Regions from separate parts of the Homo sapiens genome. Here region 1 is linked to region 2. Evidence: promoter capture Hi-C in human tissues and cell types (Jung and others, 2019). All regions are on one chromosome and are shown on one strand. Each heading gives the region's core, a stretch centred on a gene start or on the middle of the fragment in contact. The rest is flanking DNA. Distances are from core to core; before and after follow the strand shown.

Region 1 (5,666 bases), core at 410-2,909, 100 kb after region 2:
ATATTGGTAGAGTTAAATAATTTGAAAACTGAAGTCTTCGGAAATTTAAAATAAATAGAGGCTGAGATTTTTTTCTTGGACCACACAGAATTGAAGGCCCCAAAACTATGCAAAATACAAATACAAAAACCACATAAAACTTTTTGCCTGTTTTTATTTCCAAATAGTTTCCACATAAAATTCTATGATTTGAATTGTATTAAAATTGCTCATAGTAGGATAAACAATAATTTACCCATTCTCTGACATTAAAGACAACCATTTATTTGCTGCCACTTTATAATCTAACCAAATGTAGGCATTTTTAAGATAATAGAGAAAATATCTTTAAGCACCCTGTCACCTTGGAGCTGAGTTAAAAGCCAAGAGTGCTATATTACAGTTTTAGGTCAAAAGGCCAATCAAGTTGAAGGCAGTCTCTGGAAACAGAGACTAGTGTACAAGTTGCTATCTTTCTAACTCAACTATGATCAGAGCATGAAATCTGTCCTTTATTAACCTCCATCTTCCTTCACAAAAGACATTTGAATTAGTTATAGACATATATACCCCAAAAAGAAAGGTCATGGGAAACATGTCAACATTTTCAGATCAAGGAAGGATTCTCAGACAGAAAAGGTGCTAGGATGCTTCTATATAGCAACAGATGCCAATGGAGAGCATTTCACAAAAGTAACGTCTGTGATTATTTTTTATTTTTAAAAGCCTTCTTTTTATACAAGTACAGAATAGTGCCCAAATTGTTAAGTATGTAATGAAGAATTTTCACAAAGCGAACACACCCACCTAACTAGCACCCAGGTCAAGAACTAACATTACCAGAACATGGGAAGTTCTCTTCATACCCACTTCTAGTCACTACTCAATCCCCACAGTAACTGGTAGCCTCCAACAGAGCCAAGAAAAGTCCAAAATCCTTTACTGGTTGTTTTAAAAAACCAAACCAACCAACCAAACAAAAAACACCAGAATCTAAAATGGCTTGGCAAAATAGTATCTTCGACTTTCATAGTCTAAAGTTAGGATATGACTACTTTTACTGTTTTCCTGCCACTCCAGATATATTGTGAGCCAAGTACACAGAAAGAAGGGGTAAAGAAACTGGCTTCCACTGAGTCCCCATTCTAAGCCTCAGATACTGAGCTCTGCAACAACCTGGGAGGGAGTTTTTACTGATGAGGCTCAATGAGAATAAGCAACTTTCTCAATGCTATATGGCAACAAGTAGTGGAGCCGGGATGCAAAACCTTGTGCTCATTCCACTACATCCAGAGTCCTCATTATGTTCTGCCACCCACTGGGTTCCGTAAAAACACCCCCAGGGACACCAGAGGGAGACCAGAACAATCCCTACCCTGGCTTTGCCCAGAGCAGTGCCTTTTAAAAAAACTGTTTTATACAGTGGGGCTCTGTATACAATTTCAAATGGAGGAAGGGTTTCACATAAAAAACAGCCTATATGCCAGAGAATAGAGATAGCAAGGTCTAGAATCTTCTGTTTTCATTATTCTGTGTAATACTGAAAGCAAATTTTATTTTTTTCTAAATAATTAATGATACAAAATTCATAAGGTACAGAAGATACACAGTGAAAAATAATAATTTGCTTATTTTGTCCCCCAGGTACCTGGTTCTCCCCCATAGTTTCTAGTTCCAGTTTCTTAGATATTCTACTAGAGAATGACTATGCACATTTAAACAAAAATTACCCACAGAGTAGGAAAAATACCCAGAGAGTAAGATATTATACACAGTACTGTGTACCTTATGTATATCATTTTAATGTATATCAATGACAAGAGTATTTGGTAAAGGTTACTAACATAAACAATGCTTCTTCATTTCACTATAGTTTCTCATTTCAAGTTAATGATAATCTGCCATTACCTCTGAAAGGTAAAGAAAATATTGTACTACTGAAATAGGCTGTTCCAGAAAAATGAGAAAAAGAAAACACTAAATCCTATCATGAAGGATCGAAAACTTTCTAAATTTTACACATGGTGAAATGGAAGAATGCTCAAGGAATTTTATAACTAGTTTCAGGTTAAAAGACACTGTTGAAAATCAAAACCCCTTGGGCCACCAACCACTTGGAGTTCTGCTTCCCCCCTTAGTAATCTTAACCTTACACATAGATTAAATACTCACGAGCACCACTGTTACAAGTTTAGCATGGCAGGGCTGGAGGCCTCAGAAGTTATCCAAACAGTGGAGGACATCCCTAAACCTCTGTGCTGCTAGGATCTCAAGCTTCCACAGGCCGTTTACTGACTTGCTGCCACCCATGAGTTACCACTGTTCTCTGGCCCTCCTCTCCAGTCAGGCATCAGGACCACCCACTAGAACCATTATTTTTCTTTTCTGCCTCAGCCTTTTCTATTCCAGGCAAAACGGTTCTTAATCTCTCCTGGCAGATTTTATTTTTCAGCTTAAGCATCTTTACGGGTGGTGTGGAAATTAATTTCCCAGCGCTAAGCTGTATTTGTGCAGGCCTCCTGGTTAGGAAACTGGTTTAAATACTCACTGTTTCTTCCATTAACCAAATATTTGAGGGAGAGCAAGTCAATTAATTTTTTGGAGACTCTCAGTTTTATCAACTGTAATAATGTTAGATTAGATGATGTTTGAATCTCTAAAGATAATCTGAATCACAGAGGGGAAACAACATTTTTCTCCAATATTCTCTTTTTAGGAAAAAGAAGGTAAACTGCAAGAAAATAAGGTGACATTAGGAATTTTTTATGGATGGAAAAAAAAGACAAAGAAGCAAAATATATACACGCTAAGTGCCAAAAGACACACAAACCCCAAACTCCCCTATGTGATTGCCAGTGCATGTGCTGGAGTCAGATTCCAGCCCAATTTTCCAGATGACAGTTCTCTACAAGAACTGATGTTTTAAATTACTGCCATAAGGGACTACAGGATCTTAAATCATTGATGAAAATATAACTCTTTTCTCTATGCTCTAGGTCATAATGTAGGGAAAGTGCCTTGATACACTTCAGAGAACTAAAAGGATGTTCTTGTTAGCCAAATAATTCAATTAACTGGAACCAGCATTATGGTGGAGCTTTTAGTGCTAAAAAGAAGTACTTCAGAGCTATTATTTACTGTAGGCATACACATACCAAGCATCATACTAAGTGCTTTACAAGCATTTTCCCATTTAATACTCAAATTCTGTGAGAAAATTAGGGCTCTTGAGGCAAGTGACGGAGCAGGAATCTCAACTAGGCCTGACTACAAAGCCCATGCTCTCAATCACTGACAAAAAAACAAGTAGAAACAATCTATCTGAGCAACAAATTATGTGACACTTCTATCAACAGACTATATTTCTGTTCATATATACATATAAACTCACATACCAAAATATTCTTCCAACATTTTAAATTAGAAAAATCAAATTAACAATGTATTTATTTCTTTTTGTGGGGTCAGGGAGACAGGGTCTTGCTCTGTTGCCCAGGCTGGAGTGCAGTGTCACAATCATAGTTCACTACAGCCTTGACCTCCTGGGCTCAAGCGATCCTCCCACCTAGCCTCCCAAGTAGCTGGGAACACAGGCACATGCTACCATGCCTAGCTAGTTTTTAAATTTTTTGTAGAGACAAAGTCTTGCTGTGTTGCCCAGGCTGGTCTTGAACTCCTGGGCTCAAGCAATCCTCCCTCAGCCTCCCAAGGTGCTGAGATTAAAGGTGTGAGCCACCACAATTTAGAATAGAAAATTCTTAGTCAATTAATCTAGAGTTTTATGTAAAGCAAAATACATACAAAAGCTTTCAACAGTTGTTCCATTAATTGTCAAATAGTTAATCTCCAAATATAATGTAGCTGAAGAGCACTTTTTAGAAAATGATTCCTATATTCATTTAAAGCCATGTTAGCTTGCTCCAGAAATACTGACCAATCACACTCTCTTGACTTGGCAGGCTCTCTTACTCCTCCTTACTCCTCCATGCCTTTGCATACACTGTTTGTCCTGCCCAGAATGCTTTCTCCAACTTGAACAGCTGGCAAAACACACTCTTCCTTCAAATCCCTCTAAGTATACTACCCTGTGAATTTCCCAAGCAGAGGCAGACTTAAGCTTCCTCTACACTGCTGCTGTCCCTTTTGAACCTCCATTATGTATGGTGGTTGCTAAAGTACACTGCAATGATCTGTTTATCCATCATTTTCCCACAAGACTGACAGCTGATCAAAGACAGAAACAATGCATTTTCATCTATATATTTCTCAGTCCCTAATGCAGAATACAGACCAACACACTTGGGGTTTATTACTTTACTTAACTAGTTAATATAAACCAACACATTATAAATATTTAGAATCTTTCCAGAGACCATTAATATGTATTATCTACATGAACTATCATAGCAGGCTCTCCTATAATTCTAGTTTTCAGACAGGCAGGATAGGGGCTGTTTTTTGAAGATATCCAATGAACAACTAAGCAGTGTACAAAGGATTGTGGTAGGTAATGTGGAAGACACAAAAATCAGGGGCTCCATCTCATGGGATTGCCATAAAGTGGAGGGCACAAATGTTTATAATTGTTTCAACATGTTGTTCAATAAGAACACTAGTAGAAATAAAAAGTGCTACAGAATGGAAGGGCTTTATGATTATGACTAAGAAGACTGAGGAAAGGCCTGACATTTAATGACAACATTCAGGTTGGGCCTTGACGGACAGAAAAGAACATTCTACATCAGGGAACAAAGAGCATGAGCAAAAAGGTTCAGAAATGTAACAAATGTACATTATACATTTTAAAGCTTCTAAATTTTACAGATACCGAAAGAAAGGGCATGGTGTGGAAGTCTTGTATTCACATATATGAAAATCACAAGAATTACAACAGCATCAAAGAAAACAAGTATCACATATATCCCTCCATTTTCTTCTCTTAGCTAACAAGTATTCTTGGGGACATCCTCAGCTGCTATCAGCCCATTAGATTAATTAACTCACTGACAAAGAGATCTAGCAATCACTAAAAGATACTAAATTTTAAGCCGGGCACAGTGGCTCAAGCCTGTAATCCCAGCTCTTTGGGAGGCCAAGGCGGGCAGATCACGAGGTCAGGAGATCGAGACCATCCTGGCTAACACGGTGAAACCCCGTCTCTACTAAAAAATACAAAAAATTAGCCGGGCATGGTGGCGGGCGCCTGTGGTCCCAGCTACTCGGGAGGCTGAGGCAGAAGAATGGCTTGAACCAGGGAGGCGGAGCTTGCAGTGAGCTGAGAATGCGCCACTGCACTCCAGCCTGGGCGACAGAGCGAGACTCCGTCTCAAAAAAAAAAAAAAAAAAAAAAGATACTAAATTTTAGGCTGGGTGCAGTGGTTCACATCTGTAATCCCAGCACTTTGGGAGGTCAAGGAGGGAGAACTGCTTGAGCCCACGAGGTTGAGGCTACAGTGAATCATGTTCACACCACTGCACTTCTGCCTGGGCAACAGAGTGAGACCCCATCTCCCCCCACCCCCACCCAAAAAAAAGATATTAAATTTTATTTCAAGTCTGGGCACGGTGGCTCACTCCTGTAATCCCAGCACTTTGGGAGGCTGAGGCAGGTAGATCACCCGAGGTCAGGTGTTTGAGACCAGCCTGACCAACATGGTGAAACCTCGTGTCTACTAAAAATACAAAAA
Region 2 (5,467 bases), core at 2,400-4,899:
TATCATACCCAAGAAGCCAAATCCAGGAAACAGTAGAGATGGGAACAGACCCAGGGACCCACTCCAGAATTTCTGTACCCTTTTGGTATAGCTGACCTCCACAGGGTCCCAGTGACACTCAGACAGAAGACTTACCCTGCCTGGTTCCTCTCTGAGCAGGCCCCAGAAACCCTCTTAAGAGACAGAACTCTCCTAAGACACTGAGCCCAGTGCTCAGGACTTTGGCTGAGCCCAGCCCACCCCCTTACCCCTACCCAGGCTCTGCTCACCAGCAAAGCATCTGCAGATGTCCTCATGAGTGACGTAGGCCAAAGTGTGAGGGTTAAGGAGAATGGCTGATGCCCTATGGTGACAGATGGCAGACTACAGAAAAGACCCAATTCTTTAGCTAAGGTCTGACACACAGGCCCTCAGAGACCGTTCTGGGGACTCAGGTCCACCGGGGGAGGGATCACAGGCTAAGAGTGGAAGGGGAGGGGCTCTGAGGAGGGAGCCTGAGGCTGGGCCATGGCCAGTGGCTATAAGACAAACTCCCAAGAGGAACAGGACTCAGGGCAAGTTGAACCAGAGGGCCCCTTGCCCACTCCCCCCAGCAGGGACCGCCAGGAGGATATCAGCTGTTCTGCACGTCCTCTGTGACGTTCCGGATGCTCTGCTGCACCCACACCTTGTGCTGGTCTAGTTCTTGCTCCCGCTGCTGCAGCTCCTCGATCTCTGCCTTGAGCTCAATCAGTTTGTCAGCAATCTCCCGGGTATTGCAGCCAGGCCCCACACCCCTGAGCCCAGGGAGTGGGGCTGAGAGGGACTGCTGAGAACTCTGGGTCCCATGGCCCCTGCCTTCTTCGGCACCCTCCACCCCACGCCCGACACTTCTGGGTGGGAGACTCTACTACCCTCCCACTATGCCCACTCACTTCCACTGGATGCTGTTCTTGGACTTTTTCTCGATTAGCCCGATACCTTCCAAAACATTGGTAATGTCGTAAATCCGCCGCTTCTGGCGTACAGCTAGGGTGTCAGCTGCCTGGCAGAGAGAATGGAGAATGCTCAGCCCCACTCTGGGGTGTACCCCCAGCCACCCTGAGACGTGGTCTGGGAAGGGAGTAATCTGGATTCCAACCCTGTAGTGCCTCCCAGGCGCTACTGCAGCTCAGGACCGCAGCTCTGTCCCATAGGCAGCTCTTCTCCTCGCCAGCCAGGAAGGGCCACGAGGACGAACACCTGCAGCCCGAGCCTGGCCCATAGCTGTAGCTCGATGGCCTCGGCCGAATGAATGAAACATCCCCCGGCTTCTCTCCTGTGAGAAAGCACACGATGGCGGCCGGCTCTCGGAGGACCCAGCTGGGCCGCCCCCGGGGTTCCCGCTACCGGCCCAGGCCTGGTCCACCAGCCTCCCTTGTCTCCCCTTAGCCCAGGCCGCACCAGCTTGAGGTCAAGCACGCCGTCCTTGGCCTCCTGCAGAAGGGACACGAACTTGGTGGTGAGCAGTCCCAGGCTCTTTTCGTGCCGGCTTGGAGTGCCCGGGGGCGGCGGCGCCTGTGGCCCGGCCTCCGCCATCGCGCCCGCCCGCCGCCTCCCCTCAGCCAGGCCAGGCCAGGCCGGCGCCGCCGCCACTTCCGCTTCCGTTCCTGGCCGCCGGGCAGCCGGAGCCAGCGTTACTGCTTCCGCTTCCGTCCCGTGCGCCTTCCAGGGAACGTGGCGCTATTGCTGTCTGTGGGTGCAGCCGCAAAACTTCAGGGACCAGTAGCAAATGTCCAGCCTCCGAATAAGACGAAAACTACCTGGGTAGACCGGGGAGTTGGGATGAAGTTGGGGAGGAATGAGAAGGGCGTCAGTGGGCCGCCCTGGCAGTAGAGAAGGGGACGCCATCGGAACTTTCCTTGCCAATCTGCCCCAACATCACTAACTCTGCCTAGTCCCCATCTTGGGAGAGGAGACCACACTACCTGACTAATCCAATCTGCTCCCTCAAACCTGTTCCTTTTCCATTTTTTTCTCTTTATTTATTCTTTTATATATTTCAAACTCATTTTACTGCCACATCAAACCTGTTCCTAAAGGCTGCCCTACTGTCTTGGGGTCACCCCATCTATTCCTATCCCTCACTTCCTGCCAAACAGCAAGCACTAACTATATCTACCTTGTCCACCTTGTTCCACCCATGGTCCTAGCCTCATCTTTCGCTCGTCTTGTCCTCACAGTACAGTGCTCAGAGACTATGGGGTTATGAACACTTCAGCCAATGCAAACGTGTTTACCTATGTGTAAATATCAGTAAAGCACTCAGTCATTCCTGGCATGCAGGAATGTGTGATACGGTCATTTTGTAACTTTTAACATTGTTACTATTTATTATTGTTTCTTTTAGATCAGGTCCTCTGGGAAATGGGACTCGAGATAGGGTTTTGCAGCAAGTTTGTTGGGGATCCACACTTTTTTTTTTTGAGACAGGGTCTCACTCTGTTGCCCAGGCCGGAGTGCAGTGGCAAGATCAATGCCGTCTCAGCTTCCTGGGCCCAAGCGATTCTCCCACCTCAGCCTCCCAAGTAGCTGGGACCACAGGCATGCACCACCATGCCCGGCTCATTTATTTTTAGTTTTTTAGAGATGTGGGTCTCACTATATTGCCCAGGCTAGTCTTGAACTCGTGGGCTCAAGAGATCCTCCCACCTCAGCCTCCCAGAATGCTGGGATGACCGGTGTGAGCCACCGCACCTGGTCAGGATCCACACCTTTAAGGGATTAAGACAAGCAGAATTGAGCAGATGCAATTATATTATAGGCCTCAGCCTATCCCACTAGGATCTCTGAAATTGGGGTAGCACTTCTGAAGGGTTCATGTTCACACGATGGTACCATGCTTTTGCACCCCAATATTGACTGAGAGACTCAGTGGTGTGATCTCAGTAGCCTACACTCCTGGCAGCTGGAGAATGAGCACTTCTGTCCTGAAGGGTGGATTTGGGTGGTGGACTGAACATCCACTAAATAATTACCACCTTATAGTCCCTTCCCTGGCTCCCTATAACTCTCAAGATAAACACAGCTGCCCAGTTGCGGTGACTCACGCCTGTAATCTCCCAACACTTTGGGAGGCTGAGGCAGGCAGATCGCTTGAGCCCAGAAGGCTGCAGTGAGCTATGGTGGTGCCACTGTACTCCAGCCTTGGTGACAGATCAAGACCCTGTCTAAAACAAAAAAGATAAACACAGCTTTCATGACCCTCTCCTACCACCCCCCACCACACCCCTCTTCACAAGAGCCTGCCACCTCTCACTCCTCCGCAGAGGTACACATCCTCCTCAGAGGCTGGCCAACACAGTTTTCATCCTGTGCTGTTGATGTCGTCTGCATCCATATCTGCACACTCTGCCCACCACCCCAGGTTGAGGCCAAGTCTAGCAAATCCCTATCTCCTCTCCTGAGCACTAAGAGGTTCTGGGTAGGCTGGTCAAGACTGGTTGAGTACAAGTACACCCCACCCCCCCGCCCCTCAGGGAAGTGTCGCCCAGCTGTCCCCACCCTCTGTGCAGACACTCTTTCCTGTTGGGAATAAAATGCCAGAGACTCAGCTTCCTTCCTTTCTGTTGATGGCCTTGGGGAGGGAGGAGCCTCGGTGGGAAGAAGGGGCTTCTGGGTGGGGAGTGGGAGAGAGACTTCCTTGGGGAGAGGAATTCAGCTGCACGCTGGAGTCAGCTGGAGTTGCCCAGGCCCTGTGAGCAAGTGGCAGGCGTGCCCAGCTGCATTGGGGAGAGGGCTGTTCTCAAGGCCAAGGTCATTTTTGGAGGGAGAACTGGACGCCTGATCAAATCTGGTAAGTTCTGTACCAAACTGTCCTGTGCAGCTCAGAGCAGGACCAGGGTCCAGTGGAGGCCTGTGCCCACTCTGTCTCGCTTGACATCTGCAGGGGCACGACTGGGAAACCTAGCAGGCAAAGCCTCCCAGGTGCCCTCCGCATCACACCCGCTCCCTCTCACTTCCCGAGGGGGCCGGGAAGAACCTCCTTCCTCCTCTCAGAAGGGCTTAGACAGAGGCAGCAGCTCACAGGGGCATCTACTCTGCCTGCTTGCCCCGGGCCCACCTCAGCTCTGGCTCCTCCAGGCCCACAATGGACTCAGCAGCCAAGGATGAGATGCAGCCGGCGTTGTCCCCTGGTATGAACCTTTTGGGTGGACTAGGGGAGGAATGATGGCAACAAAGATGGGACTGGCTGGGCGCAGTGGCTCACGCCTGTAATCCCAACACTTTGGGAGGTCAAGATGGGCAGATGACCTGAGGTCAGGAGCTCCAAACCAACCTGGCCAACATAGTGAAACCCCGTCTCTACTAAAAATACAAAAACTAGCTGGGCGTGATGGCACGCGCCTGTAATCCCAGCTCCTCGGGAGACTGAGGCAGGAGAATCGCTTGAACCCGGGAGGCGGAGGTTACAGGGACCCGAGATTGCACCACTGCACTCCAGCCTGGGCAACAGAGCGAGACTCCATCTCAATAAACAAATAAACAAACAAATAAATAAATAAATAAATAAATAAGAAAGCTGGGACTGGGGTCGTTGGGCCCTCCTCCCTGACTACACGGCTGCCCAGGCTCTTCCTTCCCAGGACCTGAGTGGCCAGAGCAGGAGCGGGCAGAGCAGCTGGCCCGGGGTGCAGCGCTCAAGTGGGCCTCAGGCATCTTCTACCGGCCGGAGCAGCTGGCCAGGCTAGGCCAGTACCGCAGCCGCGAGGTGCAGCGTACCTGCTCCCTGGAATCGCGCCTCAAGGTGGGCATGGGGCAGGGGGTGCGGGTGCTGGGACTGTGCTGCAGGGCTGGCCCAGCCTCATGGCTCCATCTTTCCACAGTCAGTGATGCAGTCATACCTGGAAGGCGTGCAGACTGGTGTGTGGCAGCTGGCCCAGGCCATTGAGGTGGTGCAGGGAACCCGGGAGGCCCTGAGCCAGGCCCGTGGGTTGCTCCAGGGCATGTCCCAGGCCTTACAGACTCTAGAGCCCCTACGGGAGCGGGTTGCCCAGCACAAGCAACTGCAGGCCCTGTCTCACCTGCTGCCTCGGCTGCGGGCAGGTGAGCATGCAGGGACCCTGGGCCTCAGCCTCCAATAGTCAGTCCACAAACACCCATCCCTAATCAAGGGGCTGGGGCACTAGATGGGGAACTGCATAGAGCAGCACACCAGGGACCTCCCAGACAGTAGCCCGGGCTTCCCATGGCCTATGAGGCAGCTCATCCTGGGATTCCCACGTGTGGGATGCTTGAGTCAGGACAGACACCCAGTCATGTGACTCTGGCCACCTGGTTATCAGTATATTCAAACTCTTCCCTAACAGAGTGGCTGAGCGAGTACTGGCAGGACCCCCCGATTTCCCCTGCCTTCCCTCCAGGATCCTCAGCTTCCTCATATTCCATGAGTTCATGGGTTGACCTCTGGCCCACCAGGTCTTTAGGACATTGCCAAGATCCTCTTAGA

The links. Contacts are between HindIII fragments. The study calls those that stand out against the background at their distance.
Region 1: a contact is called between a fragment that was not itself captured here and the fragment with the promoter of EXOC3L1 in region 2, in 3 of the 25 tissues and cell types used here (dorsolateral prefrontal cortex, lymphoblastoid cells and mesenchymal stem cells).

What each region holds. Positions count from the first base shown.
Region 1 is chr16:67,085,337-67,091,002 of GRCh38, reverse strand. All of the region lies in intron 5 of CBFB (core-binding factor subunit beta), which reads right to left. Among named protein-coding and RNA genes, the nearest start is that of PHAF1, 22 kb to the left of the region's middle. The HindIII fragment of the contact is 5,567 bases long and covers 1-4,442 here.
Region 2 is chr16:67,188,318-67,193,784 of GRCh38, reverse strand. EXOC3L1 (exocyst complex component 3 like 1) reads left to right here and starts at 3,649. Exons shown (of 14, transcript NM_178516.4): 1 at 3,649-3,814; 2 at 4,102-4,154; 3 at 4,605-4,765; 4 at 4,845-5,064. The coding sequence starts at 4,109. It overlaps E2F4 (E2F transcription factor 4), which reads right to left and starts at 1,630. Exons shown (of 10, transcript NM_001950.4): 1 at 1,423-1,630; 2 at 915-1,024; 3 at 615-776; 4 at 270-313. The coding sequence starts at 1,557. RefSeq lists enhancers at 479-588, 1,669-1,808, 977-1,907 and a silencer at 1,389-1,578. The HindIII fragment of the contact is 11,498 bases long and covers 1-4,696 here.